2 separate regions of the Homo sapiens genome follow, and region 2 is linked to region 1. Evidence: promoter capture Hi-C in human tissues and cell types (Jung and others, 2019). All regions are on one chromosome and are shown on one strand. Each heading gives the region's core, a stretch centred on a gene start or on the middle of the fragment in contact. The rest is flanking DNA. Distances are from core to core; before and after follow the strand shown.

Region 1 (7,360 bases), core at 1,145-3,644:
ATGAGGTCAGGAGACCAGCCTGGCCAACACGGTGAAACCCTGTCTCTACTAAAAATACAAAAATTAGCTGGGTGTGGTGGCACGTGCCTGTAATCCCAGGGGAGACTGAAGCAGGAGAATTGCTCAAACCAGGGAGTCAGAGGCTGCAGTGAGCCGAGACCATGCCACTGCACTCCAGCCTGGCAACAGAGCAAGACTCCATCTCAAAATAAAAGAATCCAGAAAATTCAAAGAACTTCAGACACCAATAAAAATAATAATGATCTTGGCCAGGTGTGGTGGCTCACACCTGTAATCCCAGCACTCTGGGAGGCCGAGGTGGGTGGATCACTTGAGGTCAGGAGTTCAAGACCAGCCTGACCAACATGGTGAAACCTTGACTCTACTAAAAATACAAAAATTAGCCAGGTGTGGTAGCACATGCCCGTAATCCCAGATACTCGGGAGGCTGAGGCAGGAGAATTGCTCGAGCATGGAAAGCGGAGGTTGCAGTGAGCCGAAATCGCACCATTGCGCTACAGCCTGGGAGACAGAGCAAGACTCTCCATCTCAAAAATTAATAATAATAACTATCTCAATTTTGTAAAGTGGGCCAAGGACGTGAAATTAACGAGACTCTAATGACAGGTGACCATATGGAAAGAGGCACAGCATGGCTAGTAACCAGGAAGAGGGAATATTAAACCACAGTGTGTAACACTGTGTTACACACCCACATGAAGGGTGTAAGTTGACAGTTGCAAGTTTTGGTGGGGGTGCCAGGAAACAGGAGCTCTCTGGCAATGCTGGTTGGACAGCAGCTGGCTGGGGGGATCCCTTGGGAAGACAGCTTGGTAACAAGAACCTCCTGACTTTCAGGCACCCACACCTGCAGGAGGGGTTTTGGGCAAGAAAGTTGCAGCTTGCTTGAAATAGCAACAAAAAGGAAACAAAAGGTCCATCAACAAGTAAATGGATAAGTCAATGTATATTTAGAAATCAGAGAAAACAAATAAATTAAAACCATATGTATCCCTAGAGAAAATCTCTTTAGCCTAACACCTATTTTTTTCAAAAGCAATTTACAGAAAGAGAAATACAGTGTAATACCCATTACATAAAGTTTTCAGCATGTAAAATTTTTTTTTCTTTTTTCTTTTCTTTTTTTTTTTTTTTTTTTGAGATAGAGTCTCACTCTGTTGCCCAGGCTGGAGTGCAATGGCGTGATTTCAGCTCACTGCAACCACTGCCTCCCAGGTTCAAGCGATTCTCCTGCCTCAGCCTCCCGAATAGCTGGGATTACAGGCACATGCCACCATACCTGGTTAATTTTTGTATTTTTAGTAAAGACGAGGTTTCACCATGTTAGTGAGGCTGGTCTCAAACTCCTGGACTCAAATGATCCGCCCACCTCAGCCTCCCAAAGTGCTGAAATTACAGGTGTGAGCCACCGCGCCTGGCCACAAAACATTTTTAAAGGAACATACATATTAAGTAGGAGTGTGAGGACCTTCATGAGAGTGGTGAATTCCAAATTCAAGAAATTATTAGGGTGGGACAGAAACAATATGGAGAGATGGAGGAACAGAGACTTCATTTATTTATGCCATTTTTTCCCAAGTTGAGTAGGGTTTTTTTTTACATTTTTTAAATATATTACTCTTTATACCATCGTTCAACTAAAATAGATCACTTTTTTTTTTTTTTTGAGACAGAGTCCCGCTCTGTTGCCCACACTAGAGTGCAGTGGTGTGATCTCTGCTCACTGCAACCTTCACCTCTGGGTTCAAGCCATTCTCCTGCCTCAGCCTCCCAAGTAGCTGGAGTTACAAGCATGCACCACCATGCCTGGCTAATTTTTGTATTTTTAGTAGAGATGGGGTTTTGCCATGTTGGGCAGGCTGGTCTCCAACTCCTGACCTCAAATGATCCACCTGCCTCGGCCTCCCAAAGTGCTGGGATTACAGATGTGAGCCACCACACCCAGTTAATTTTTGTGTTTTTAGTAGACACGAGATTTCACCATTTTGGCCAGGCTGGTCTCCAACCCCTCACCTCAAGTGATCCACCTGCCTAGGCCTCCCAAAGTGCTGAGATTACAGGTGTGAGCCACCATGCCCAGCCTAAAATAGATGCTTTTGTAAATCCAGTGTGACTCTGGAGTCAACAGGGAGAGGCTAGACCCTTGGGGGCCTCCATTAAGTCTGGACACAGATTCAGCAAGAGAGCAGCAGCCCACTGAGCAGCCCATACACCAAGGGGCGGATTTCTAGAGGAAACAAGAAAAAGGGGCCCTAAAAATGGCACAAACAGGAACCAGGAAATGTGTGCCCAGCCTCACACATGACCCTGGGCAGGGATATAAAGGGTCCAGGCTCAGGGAGCTCCACACCTGCACCTCCCTCTCACCTGCTCCTCTACCTGCTCCACCCTCAATCCACCAGAACCATGGGCTGTTGCGGCTGCTCCGGAGGCTGTGGCTCCAGCTGTGGGGGCTGTGGCTCCGGCTGTGGGGGCTGTGGCTCCGGCTGTGGGGGCTGTGGCTCTGGCTGTGGAGGTTCTGGCTCCAGCTGCTGTGTGCCCGTCTGCTGCTGCAAGCCCGTGTGCTGCCGTGTGCCAACCTGTTCCTGCTCCAGCTGTGGCAAAGGGGGCTGTGGCTCTTCTGGGGGCTCCAAGGGGGGCTGTGGCTCCTGTGGAGGCTGCAAGGGGGGCTGTGGCTCTTGTGGGGGATCCAAGGGGGGTTGTGGCTCCTGTGGGGGCTCCAAGGGGGGCTGTGGCTCTTGTGGGGGATCCAAGGGTGGCTGTGGTTCCGGCTGTGGGGGATGTGGCTCCAGCTGCTGTGTGCCTGTCTGCTGCTGCAAGCCCATGTGCTGCTGTGTGCCAGCTTGTTCCTGCTCCAGCTGTGGCAAAGGGGGCTGTGGCTCCTGTGGGTGCTCCAAGGGGGCCTGTGGTTCTTGTGGGGGCTCCAAGGGGGGCTGTGGCTCCTGTGGAGGCTGCAAGGGGGGCTGCGGTTCTTGTGGGGGATCCAAGGGGGGTTGTGGCTCCGGCTGTGGGGGCTGTGGCTCCGGCTGCGGTGTGCCCGTGTGTTGCTGTTCCTGTTCCAGTTGTGGCTCTTGCGCGGGGTCTAAGGGAGGCTGCGGGTCATCCTGCTCCCAGTGCAGTTGCTGTAAGCCCTGCTGCTGTTCCTCAGGCTGTGGGTCATCCTGTTGCCAATCCAGCTGCTGCAAGCCCTGCTGCTCCCAGTCCAGTTGCTGTGTCCCCGTGTGCTGCCAGTGCAAGATCTGATTTCTGGCTTTGCAGGACTCTTACCATGGCCAGGCATTCCTGCCCAGCCTTTACCTCCTTTTCCTGGCACCCAGTGAGCCAGACTCTCCTTCCCCACCCACTACCCTATCTCCCACCCTCCTGCCTTGCCAAGCATGAACACTTCTCTTTGACCTTCTACCAAGAAATGCCATGGGCCCATGCATCCAAGAAGAATGACTTTCAAGGCCTCCCTTCCAGGCATCTGGAGACCAGCCCCCCACCGCCCCAGCCACCTGCAGCAAATGCCTATCCGCAAGCCCTGCCTGCTGGCACCACATCCAGCACGGACAGCCCTGCAGGACAGCCCAGGGTGCTTGCTCACTCTGCAGTCACTAGGAGTTCAGATCTCTGTCCTTTAAACATCCAATAAACCGCTCACCCCAGCACCCCATAGCTGTCTTGGTATATTTATGTTTATTTCCCTCTCGAGGCAGGTGGGGGGCATCTGTGGCTACACTGGGTCCCCTGGGAACCACACACACACACACACACACACACACACACACACACACCGGCCCTGAACCAAACCGGAGCAGGCAGGTGGGCGCCCTGGCCAGCAGGGATCCTGGATACATGGTGGCGGTCAGAGGCAGGAGCACCAGCAGCCACCTGGCTCAGCCCCTTGCCGTGCAGCCTCTACCACACCCTCTCAGCATCTGGCTCAGGGCGGGGGTGCCTTGCCTTGATCAGGCAAAAGCAATCACTAGGGGGTCATCATGGCCTGTTACCACGCGGTCTTATTCTCTTTGGGCTGATGTAACAGAACACCATGGACTGGCATGTACAACAGAAGTGTATTTCTCAGGGTTCTGGAAGCTGGCAGTCTGAATTAAAGATGCCGGCGGCCAGGTGCGGTGGCTCATGCCTGTAATCCCAGCACTTTGGGAGGCCGAGGGGGGCGGATCACCAGGTCAGGAGATTGAGACCATCCTGGCTAACACGGTGAAACCCCCCTCTCTACTAAAAATACAAAAATTTAGCCGGGCATGGTGGCAGGCGCCTGTAGTCCCAGCTACTCAGGAGACTGAGGCAGGAGAATGGTGTGAACCCGGGAGGCGGAGGCTGCAGTGAGCCGAGATCGCGCCACTGCACTCCAGCCTGGGCTACAGAGCAAGATTCCGTCTCAAAAAAAACAAAAAACAAACAAAAAAAGCCAGAAGAATGCAAATATGACATTCCAGAGGGGATGTATATGGAAGGTCAGCAATCCCATTGCAGCAACCAGAGAAGGCCACATTAATTACAGAACTCAGATGGTAAAATAAATAAATAAATAAATAAATAAATAAATAAATAAATAACTTCAGGAAATCCTACCGTATGTATCTTACCACAATTTTTTTTTTCTGAGATGGAGTCTCACTCTGTTGCCCAGGCTGGAGTGCAGTAGTGTGATCTCCACTCACTGCAACCTCTGCCTCCTGGGTTCAAGCTATTCTCCTGCCTCAGCCTCCTGAGTTTCTGGGACTACAGGCATGAGCCACCATGCCCAGCTAATTTTGTTTTGTTTGTATTTTTAGTAGAGATGGGGTTTCACCATGTTGGCCAGGCTGGTCTCAAACTCCTGACCTCAAGTGATCTACCTGCCTCACCCTCCCAAAGTGCTGGGATTATAGGCGTCAGCCACTGCATCCGGCCCACAATTTTGAAATACCGGAAAAATGTATCTATAAAAAAGACATTGGAGAACTGTAGAAGCAACAAGAACCAGATGAAAACATTCAGAGAGAGCCCTTCCAAGATGAGCTGAATGTCGGCTTCTCTCCCTTTAAGGAATTAACCAGTGCTGGGTATGAGCTGAGCCTCGGTCCCACTGGGGAAGAGGAATTCTACTGGGAGAAATACCCAGCAGGGCTCTTGGCAACCACAGGGGCTGGAGCAGAAAACTGGGACATTTGCAAATTTCTGGGGAGGCTAAGAAGTGAGGCCTGAGGCCTCCGCAGGTGCGCTGAAGTCTCGCATAGCCTTGTGGAGCTTAGTACACAGAGCTTTTCTAGAGGAAGGGGTCCTGCCCCAGGCACAGGTTAATCTGGCCCTTAAGACATTTTCCAAATTTTGAAGCTGCCTGAGCAGACAACTAAAGAGCTAAGCCTGTACCTCAGGGAAAGAAGTGACTCTCTGACAGCCTGTCAGGGATAAGAAGACACGGACTGGCCAGGCTCTTAACCAAAACTCCAGGAAAGCCACACAGAGGGACGATTGACTGAAGTGGCCCAATCCCTAACTGAGCGGGTAGACGAAATGTTCAGCTCCTCTCCCTGTCTGCACTAGAGAGGGAGGCCACGTGCTCACTGTTGGAAGAGAGCAGCTAGACCCCCACAGTCCTTAGATGGAGACCCCCACGGTCCCGAGATATAGACCTCCACGGTCCTTAGATACAGACCCCCATGGTCCTGAGATATGGAGCCCCACGGTCCTGAGATATAGACCCCCACGGTCCCGAGATACAGACCGCCACAGTCCTTAGATATAGACTCCCACAGTCCCTAGATATAGACCCCCACGGTCCCTAGACACAGATCCCTACGGTCCCTAGATACAGACCCCCACGGTCCTGAGATACAGAACCCCACGGTCCCGACATATGGTCCTTAGATATGGACCCCCACGGTCCCGAGATATAGACCCCCCACGGTCCCGACATATGGACCCCCATGGTCCCTAGATATGGACGCCACGGTCCTTAGATATAGACTCCCACAGTCCCTAGATATAGACTCCCACGGTCCCGAGATACAGACCCCCACGGTCCTGAGATACAGATCCCCACGGTCCTGAGATATGGACCCCCACGGTCCCTAGATATAGACCCCACGGTCCTTAGATATAGACTCCCACAGTCCCTAGATACAGATCCGCACGGTCCCTAGATACAGATCCCCACGGTCCCTAGATACAGACCCCCACGGTCCTGAGATACAGAACCCCACGGTCCTTAGATATAGACCCCCACGGTCCTGACATATAGACCCCCCATGGTCCCAAGATATGGACCCCCACAGTCCTTAGATATGGACCCCCACGGTCCCGAGATATAGACACCCCCACGGTCCCGACATATGGACCCCCCACGGTCCCTAGATATGGACCCCCACGGTCCCTAGATATGGACCCCCACGGTCCTGAGATACAGAACCCCACGGTCCTTAGATATAGACCCCCACGGTCCTGACATATAGACCCCCCATGGTCCCAAGATATGGACCCCCACGGTCCTTAGATATGGACCCCCACGGTCCCGAGATATAGACACCCCCACGGTCCCGACATATGGACCCCCCACGGTCCCTAGATATGGACCCCCACGGTCCTTTGAGGCATACCTCTGACAGAAAGCACGAGATACAGGACACAGCAGGAAACAGTGATCAATAATCATGCGGAAAGCTAACAGAAGAAGCAGATTACAGATAAGCCACATATTGGAGTTAGGAAACAAGGGCTTTAAAATAACTATGATTGGGCCAGGCACAGTGGCTCACGCTTGTAATCCCAGTGCTTTGGGAGGCCGAGGAGGGCGGATCACCTGAGGTCAGGAGTTCGAGACCAGACTGGCCAACATGGTGAAACCCCATCTCTACTAAAAATATAAAAAGTAGCCAAGGGCCAGGCACGGTGGCTCACGCCTGTAATCCCAGCACTTTGCGAGGCCGAGGTGAGTGTATCACAAGGTCAGGAGTTCAAGACCAGACTGGCCGACATGATGAAACCCTGTCTGTACTAAAAATATAAAAAGTAGCCAAGGGCTGGGCACAGTGGCTCACGCCTGTAATCTCAGCACTTTGGGAGGCCGAGGCAGGCAGATCACAGGTCAGGAAATCGAGACCAGCCTGGCCAACATGGTAAAATCCTGTCTCAACTAAAAATACAAAATATTAGCCGGGTGTAGTGGCATGCGCCTGTAGTCCCAGCTACTCAGGAGGGTGAAGCAGGAGAATCGCTTGAACCCGGGATGTGGAGGTTGCAGTGCGCCGAGATCGCACCACTGCACTCCAGCCTGGGCAACAAGAGCAAGACTCTATCTCAAAAAAAAAACAAAAAAAAAAGTAGCTGGGCATGGTGGTGGGCACCTGTA
Region 2 (6,892 bases), core at 2,107-4,606, 220 kb after region 1:
GGGAAGCTTATAGGATTTATCCTTTGCTGAATGGCTTCTTTGATTCAGCATAATGTCCTCAAGGTTCATCCATTTTGTAGCCTGTGTGAGAATTAATTTCTTTCCTTTTATTTTTTTTCTTTTTTAGAGACAGGAGAGATCATAGCTCACTGCAGCCTCAACTTCCTGGGCTCAAGCTATCCTCCTGCTTCAGTCTCCTGGGTAGCGGGGACTACAGCAAATTTTTTAAATTGTTTTTTGTAGAGACGGGGGTCTCATTATGTTGCCCAGGCTGGTCTCAAACTCCTGGCCTCAAGCCATTCTCCTGCCTCAGCTTCCCAAAGAGCTGGGATGACAGGCGTGAGCTGCAGGATTTCCTTCCTTTTTAAGGATGAATAACATTCCCTGCTATGGGTAGATCACACTTTGTTTCATTCATCAACGTCCGTTTTGCAGAGGCCCCTGCAGTCATTGGCAGCAGTGTACCTTGGCTTCTGGAGTCAGTTTGAGAATCACCCTGAGGTGCTACAAGCAGCTGGGATCACTGGGGTGGTTTCTAGCCATGTCAGTGGTACAGTTATCAGGGGGCAATGGATGCTACCCTTCTATCCCTGCACTTCCAGATCTCCTGAAATAACCTTCAGTCCCCAAAGTTCTCAACATTTCTGTAAGCCTAGAGTTCCCTGCAATGAATCTCCTTCTACCCAAAATACCTAGAGTGACTTTAGTGTTCCCGACCAACCATTCCTGGTACCAGCAGTGTTTCCAGGAAGGCAGAACCTTGAAGATGGGAATCTGGAGTTAGTAATTGGACAGACCAGGTTTTGTCTGATGTCAGTGAGGACCACGTGAGGAGTGGGAAGCAGGATGCAGATAATCTATAAACATTGTCACTGGTAAAATCATTACCTTGAGGTCTCTGCGATGCAGTGCCCATCACAAGCCTGGGTTTCAGACACCAGGGGGCTCTTGCAATAGGACATTAGGATGTGGATGGAAACCATGCATACAAGGATGTGGCATGGGGTGGCTGCTGCTTATTGCACTGGGGAACTGACAAAGAAAATGACAAGCTGTGGCCTTAAGTGCTCAGCTGAAGGTATAGACAGAGAACCAGAGCCCTTCTATAGCTGTCCTAAAAAAACCATTTTAGTTCTTGTAGCTGTAGAGTCAACTTTTTTTTTTAAATGCAGAGTACAAATTTGATCTTGCAGGCTAATGAATTACAACTAAAGAATAATTAAATGTCTTACTAAATCTCTTAAGTCAAAGTTAAGGCATTTATTTGGAAAGAATGAGACCTCGAGAACTGGAGAGGGTGGATTTCTCTGACTCTGAGTCCCCTGAACATTAGACCTTCCTGAGTCTCCCTGTAAGCAGAAGTGACTCTTCCTTAGAGTCTGAGGTGAGTAAAACTGTGCCCAAAGATCTGTGATGGCTTCACTTGAGGAAACAGCCTTGCAAGATGACAGATCTCCCTTGAGATCCACCTCCACCGACCCTCATTATTCCCAGAGCCATGACTAGAGTTGGGTGCAGAGGGATAAACACACAGTGAGACCCAAGAGGAGCCACATACACACTGAATGCAAGTTTTTGCCAATTTACATCAGCAGAAACCCAGGGGCGTCTGAGGCCGTGGACTCTTGGAGTGTTGGACCACAAAGGAGGTAACAGAATGTTAGATCAGGGTAGTTTTACCAATGAGACTCACACAGCAGAGACTCACTTAGCAGAGAAGTGTGCAGAAGCAGTGGCTGGAAGTGGTTCTCATAGTTTGTTCCGTTGTTTGACAGAAGCTTGCACACCACGTGAAATGAAGTGAGCTGTCAGAACTTCCTCCATACAACGGAGAGGAAAGGAGGCAAAAGCACAGACGTGGCAACGTTAGAGGATTTATCGCATGGCCCTGTTCATCCATCCCAGCAATGCATCCTGGGAGAGAAAGGCGTGGCAATATGCTGATGGAGGGCACCGCATCTTGGAAGGCTCTGTGGACCAAGATAGTGGTGCAAGTTGCTCTCATTGAACAGGCTGCCTGAGTGTTGGCAACCAGGTAGCAGCTCCAGCACAATGGGGTGTCCTGGTCTCAATGGGTGACAGGGCCAGGGCAGCAACTGTGTCCTTCACCCTGTAGGACTTTGGGGAATGTCTAACTGATTGAAGTGTCCCCAGGACTAAAACACGTAAGTAGCCTGCCAAAGTGTTCTCTGGTCTCTGTCTTAGTCTGTTTGGGCTACCATAACAAAAATATCATTAAAGATCTGGGTGGCTTATAAATGACAGAAACATGTCTCACAGTTCTGGAGGCTGGAAGTGCAAGACCAAGGTGCCAGCTGTGTTTGGTGGAGGCCAGTTTCCTCTCAGACAGCAACTTCCGGCTGCACCCGTACATGGGGCAAACAAGGCTCCCATGGGCCCCTTTCATAAGGGCACCAATCCATTTATGAGGGCTCTGCCCCCATGACCTTGCCACCTCTTGAAGGTCCCACCTCCCAACACCATCACCTTGGTGATTAGGTTTCAATACCTACCTTTCGAGGAGGACACAAGCATTCAGACCATGGCAATCACTGTAAGTGACAAAACCCTGTAGGTCTGGTGAACAGAGAAATGGCGTCAGCCAGCATGGTGGAGAATCCTGGCTTTTCCCCATATCCCAGAACTGAGCAGCTCAGAACCCCTGAATGCCGGGGGACCAGACCTCCTTACAGAAGGGCTCTGAGATACCACTGGCCCCACGATTGTGGGCCAGTCAGAGCGGGTGGGATGCTCGGCTCAGAGGTGCTGCCTAGCCATTCTCCAGGGCGAACTGTTTCCTTCCTTCCATCTGCAGCCACGCTGCCAAAGGGCTGCAGACTTCTTCAGAGAAATCTAGGAGAAAGATTTACAGTGCATACTGGCAACGGTATCCTGGATTCCTCTTTTTTTGTTTGTTTGTTTGAGACAGAGTCTTGCTCTGTCGCCCAGGCTGGAGTGCAGTGGTGTGATCTTGGCTCATCGCAGCCTCTGTCCCCCAGGTTCAAACAATTCTCCTGTCTCAGCCTCCCGAGTAGCTGTGACTGCAGGCGTGCGCCACCATGCCCGGCTAATTTTGTATTTTTAGTAGAGACAGGGTTTCACCATGTTGACCAGGCTGGTCTCAAACTCCCAACCTCAGGTGATCCACCCGCCTCAGCCTCCCAAAGTGCTGGGATTACAGGTGTGAGCCACTGTGCCCAGCCGATATCTCAGCTTCCTATCACATCGTTTTGCTTCACCTCTTTGGCCTGTGAAGGACAGAGGTGGATTTTGGAGAGTGACTGTGGATGGCTGCAAACACAATCGGGTGGGGACTCCAATTGCATCTGCCCCTCCAGATGTACCTCGTGTGATGGAACACCCAGCCATGGCTTCCATGAGGAAACTCATCTGACCAACGTTTCCTTCCACACACAACAGCTGAGCCACAGGGGAAGGCTACTTTCACCTGGCAGGGACAGCAATACACCCCGGCTCGTGCTTCTCAGAACTGTGCCCATCGTCCATCCCTTTGTCAAAATATAGACCTCAGGGCCCTTGACCATCTCAGTCCTGGCCATCCCATGGGACAAAGTGCCAGTTCACTATGCCGATGGTGTAATGGAGATCAGACCTGGTGGCAGGAAGTAGTAAATACTCTAACTGTCTTAGTAAGGCCCTTTCGTGCCTCCATAGTAGGAGACGCACCTCACAAAATGAAGGATTCTGTCATTTCAGTGAAATTTCTAGACATCCTGTGGTCTGGGATATATGAAGATATGTGCCCCCAGCCAGGCATGGGCTCACACCTGTCATCCCAGCACTCTGGGAGGCCATGGCAGGAGGATCGCTTGAGCCCAGGAGTTCAAGGCTGCAGTGAGCTGTGATGGCACCACCACACTCCAGCCTGGGCAACAGAGTGAGACCTTGTCTCAACAATAATGATTAATAATAATAATAATAAGATACTTGACCCAACTTCCTGTTCTTTGCACTAAGAAGGTGGCACAATGCTGCTTGGTAGGCCTTTTTAGACCCCAGAGAGCTCATGCACCATATTGAAGCAGGCTGCTTCGACCATATGGAAGCCTCCGAGGCTGTCAGTTTTGAAGGGGCCTACAGCAGCAGAAGGCTCTGTAGCAGGTCCAGGCTGCCATCAGGCACCTCTGCACGCGTGTCTCAGCAAATCAGACGGTGACAACAGGTCCGTGTCAGACAGGGATGCCGTGTGGAGCTTCCGACAAACCCTTCAGAAGAATCCCAGCTCAGCCACCCAGCGTTTTGGAGAAAAATCATGCCCTCTTCTGAAAGTAACCATTTTCCTTTGGAGACCCAGCTCCTGGCTTTCCACTGGGCCTCGGAAGAGATGGAAGTGTCAGATGACCACGTGACCTACCGGTCATGAATGAGGCAATGCAAGATTCACCAAGCATTAAAGCTTACCGTTCCCAGCATCCCTCCACCGTCACTTGGGGTGGAGACTATGGCACAGTCTCTGGGAGGGCCTGGGACTGCACTCCTCCCACTCGTTCAGGTGGCCGCCCATCTGTGCCATGCACCCACGTCCACGGCACCCAGGCCCACGGCACCCAGGCCCACAGCACCCACGTGCACAGCACCCACGTCCACAGCACCCAGGCCCACAGCACCCACACCCAGACATTGCCATTTCTCCCTCCACAAGCACCAGTGCCTTCCAGGGCAATTCCCAGCCACCAGGGGAGTGAGGAATCAAACACTCACACTCAGTTTCCAGGTAGGTCCAGACAGTTCCAGACAACACTGGCACCAGCTGAGAGCACACGGGGCAATGCTGCAGCCTCATCTGGGGATGGCCCTGTAGGGAGGCAGGACAGGGGCGTCGTCCTAGCGAGCAGCGCTTGGGGCGGCCTCACTGGCTGTGTCCTGTGCCTGGACAAGAGGACAGGACCAGACCTCTTCAGGGGATGTGGCTAACGGTTTGCCGGATGGTCCGGGACTTGGAAGCCATCTGTTTGAAAGGTTGATGACAAGGAGGCTGGGGAGAGACTTGTGGACGAACCTTTCCAGAGGGGCACAGGACGTGGGGATATTTGCGTGTCCACGGAGGAGGCTCATCACAGCCAGCTGAACACACGGCTTGTTTTGGGGATGTCACCAGCCACCCCAGGCATGCTTGATGGCTCCTGGGCAGTGCCCACAGCAGTGAGCATGGAAGCTGCGCCCAGCCTCAGACATGGGCCCCCCACCACGGCCAAAAGCCCAACAACCAACAGCAGAGAGCCAGAGCTGTGGGCCTGAAACTGCACTGTTCCCCACGGGATGAGCCGGTCACGGGGGGAGGTTGGTTTCACTGGACCCCTCCATCAGGGAGGGTGCAACGATGTGTCCCGGTTGGAATAGACGCTTCCTCTGGACATGAGTTTCTGTCCCTGGTCATGGCACTTCTGCCGACACCACATGCAGAGTCTGAGCAGCTGTCATGGTCCTCCACAAAGCATTAGCTGCGACCCAGGGCCCCATTCCACAGAGGAAAGGGAGAGAAAGGGCTCAGGCCCATGCGTTCCCTTGCTGTACCTGGGCCACGTCACCCCCATCATGGGCTGTTGAAGGCTCACTTGTGTGACAATGTGTGACAGCTGTCTACAGGACGAGGCCTCTGGAGGGTGTGGTCCCACAAGGTGGGCCAGGTCCATGTGTGATGTTCTCCCAGAGCCGGGACACGTAGGCCCAGGGTGGTTCCCTGCACCATGGCCCTAGTGACGCACCGGCTAAGCCCATGCTCCCCGCGTCAGCACGTCTGGGTTTTGCAGGTGCTGAGGTGGTGCGGAGTATTCACGTCACACACACGCTTCCCCTGAAGGGGACGCCTGGACAGCCACAGGCCCAGGAGTCCTCTTGCCACCAGAGCAGTAGACCTCCTGCTGGGGCAGCGGGCTCAGGCGGCCAAGGACAGTCAGGACGGCTCCTTCAAGGGAGCAGCGGGAGGAGGCTGAGCCTGGAGTCTCCCCAAGACCACCTGGAAGCCAAAGTTCATGAATGACATTTTGTTGTTTTTATGTTTTGCTATTTTTTTTTTTTTGAGACAGAGTCTCGCTCTGTCGTCCAGGCTGGAGTGCAGTGGTGTGATCTCAGCTCACTGCAACCTCTGCCTCCTGGATTCAGGTGATTCTCCTGCCTCAGCCTCCTGAGTAGCTGGGATTACAGGCGCCCGCCACCACGCCTGGCTAATTTTTGTATTTTTAGTAGAGACGGGGTTTCACCATGTTGGCCAGGATGGTCTCAAACTCCTGACCTCAGGTGATCCGTCCGCCTCGGCCTCCCAAAATGCTGGGATTACAGGCATGAGCCACTGCGCCCGACCATGGATGGCATTTTGGAACAACCCCAAAGAAAAGGACGAATAACGGCTCAGTCCCTTTGAGAACACAATGGCTATGGAGCCACGGACAGGACACCGTGCCGTGCAGAGGCGGCGGCGGGGCTGGGGCAGCCACGCACGTTTTCTCCTCCCACCACTTCCCCTCCTTGAGCCCTTCCCTGCTGTTTTACATGGGGTGTGGTCAGCATTTATTTATTTACTTATTTATTTATTTTATTTTTCCATAAGTTATTGGGGTACACGTGGTATTTGGTTCCAGGAGTGAGTTCTTGAGCTCTGATCTGCGAGATCCTCGTGCACTCATTACCTGAGCAGTATACACTGCACCCTATTTGTTGTCTTTTATCCCTCGCCCCCTCCCATTCTTCCCCTCCAAGTCCCCAAAGTCCACTGTATCATTCTTATGCCTTCGCGTCCTCACAGCTTAGCTCCCACATATCAGTGAGAACACACAATGTTTGGTTTTCTGTGGTCAGCTTTTAAACTTGGTATCTGATTTACAGGATGGCAAGAGAGGACCAGTGTTGACCTAGAAAAGCAGCTCGCCTGGAC

Evidence for each region. The method cuts DNA at HindIII sites, captures the fragments that hold promoters and counts their contacts. A contact is called where the count stands out against the background at its distance.
Region 2: a contact is called between a fragment that was not itself captured here and the fragment with the promoter of KRTAP5-1 in region 1, in 3 of the 25 tissues and cell types used here (small bowel, spleen and thymus).

Annotation. Positions count from the first base shown.
Region 1 is chr11:1,580,317-1,587,676 of GRCh38, reverse strand. It overlaps KRTAP5-1 (keratin associated protein 5-1), which reads left to right and starts at 2,394. Exons shown (of 1, transcript NM_001005922.1): 1 at 2,394-3,335. The coding sequence starts at 2,428. The coding sequence ends at 3,264. The region is part of intron 1 of KRTAP5-AS1 (KRTAP5-1/KRTAP5-2 antisense RNA 1); the gene reads right to left. The HindIII fragment of the contact is 15,838 bases long and covers 1-7,360 here.
Region 2 is chr11:1,358,639-1,365,530 of GRCh38, reverse strand. It overlaps LINC02689 (long intergenic non-protein coding RNA 2689), which reads right to left. Exons shown (of 5, transcript XR_930972.2): 2 at 4,723-4,816; 3 at 2,684-2,853; 4 at 2,514-2,577; 5 at 333-1,970. Among named protein-coding and RNA genes, the nearest start is that of LINC02689, 12 kb to the right of the region's middle. RefSeq lists enhancers at 5,295-5,794, 5,795-6,296. The HindIII fragment of the contact is 4,928 bases long and covers 893-5,820 here.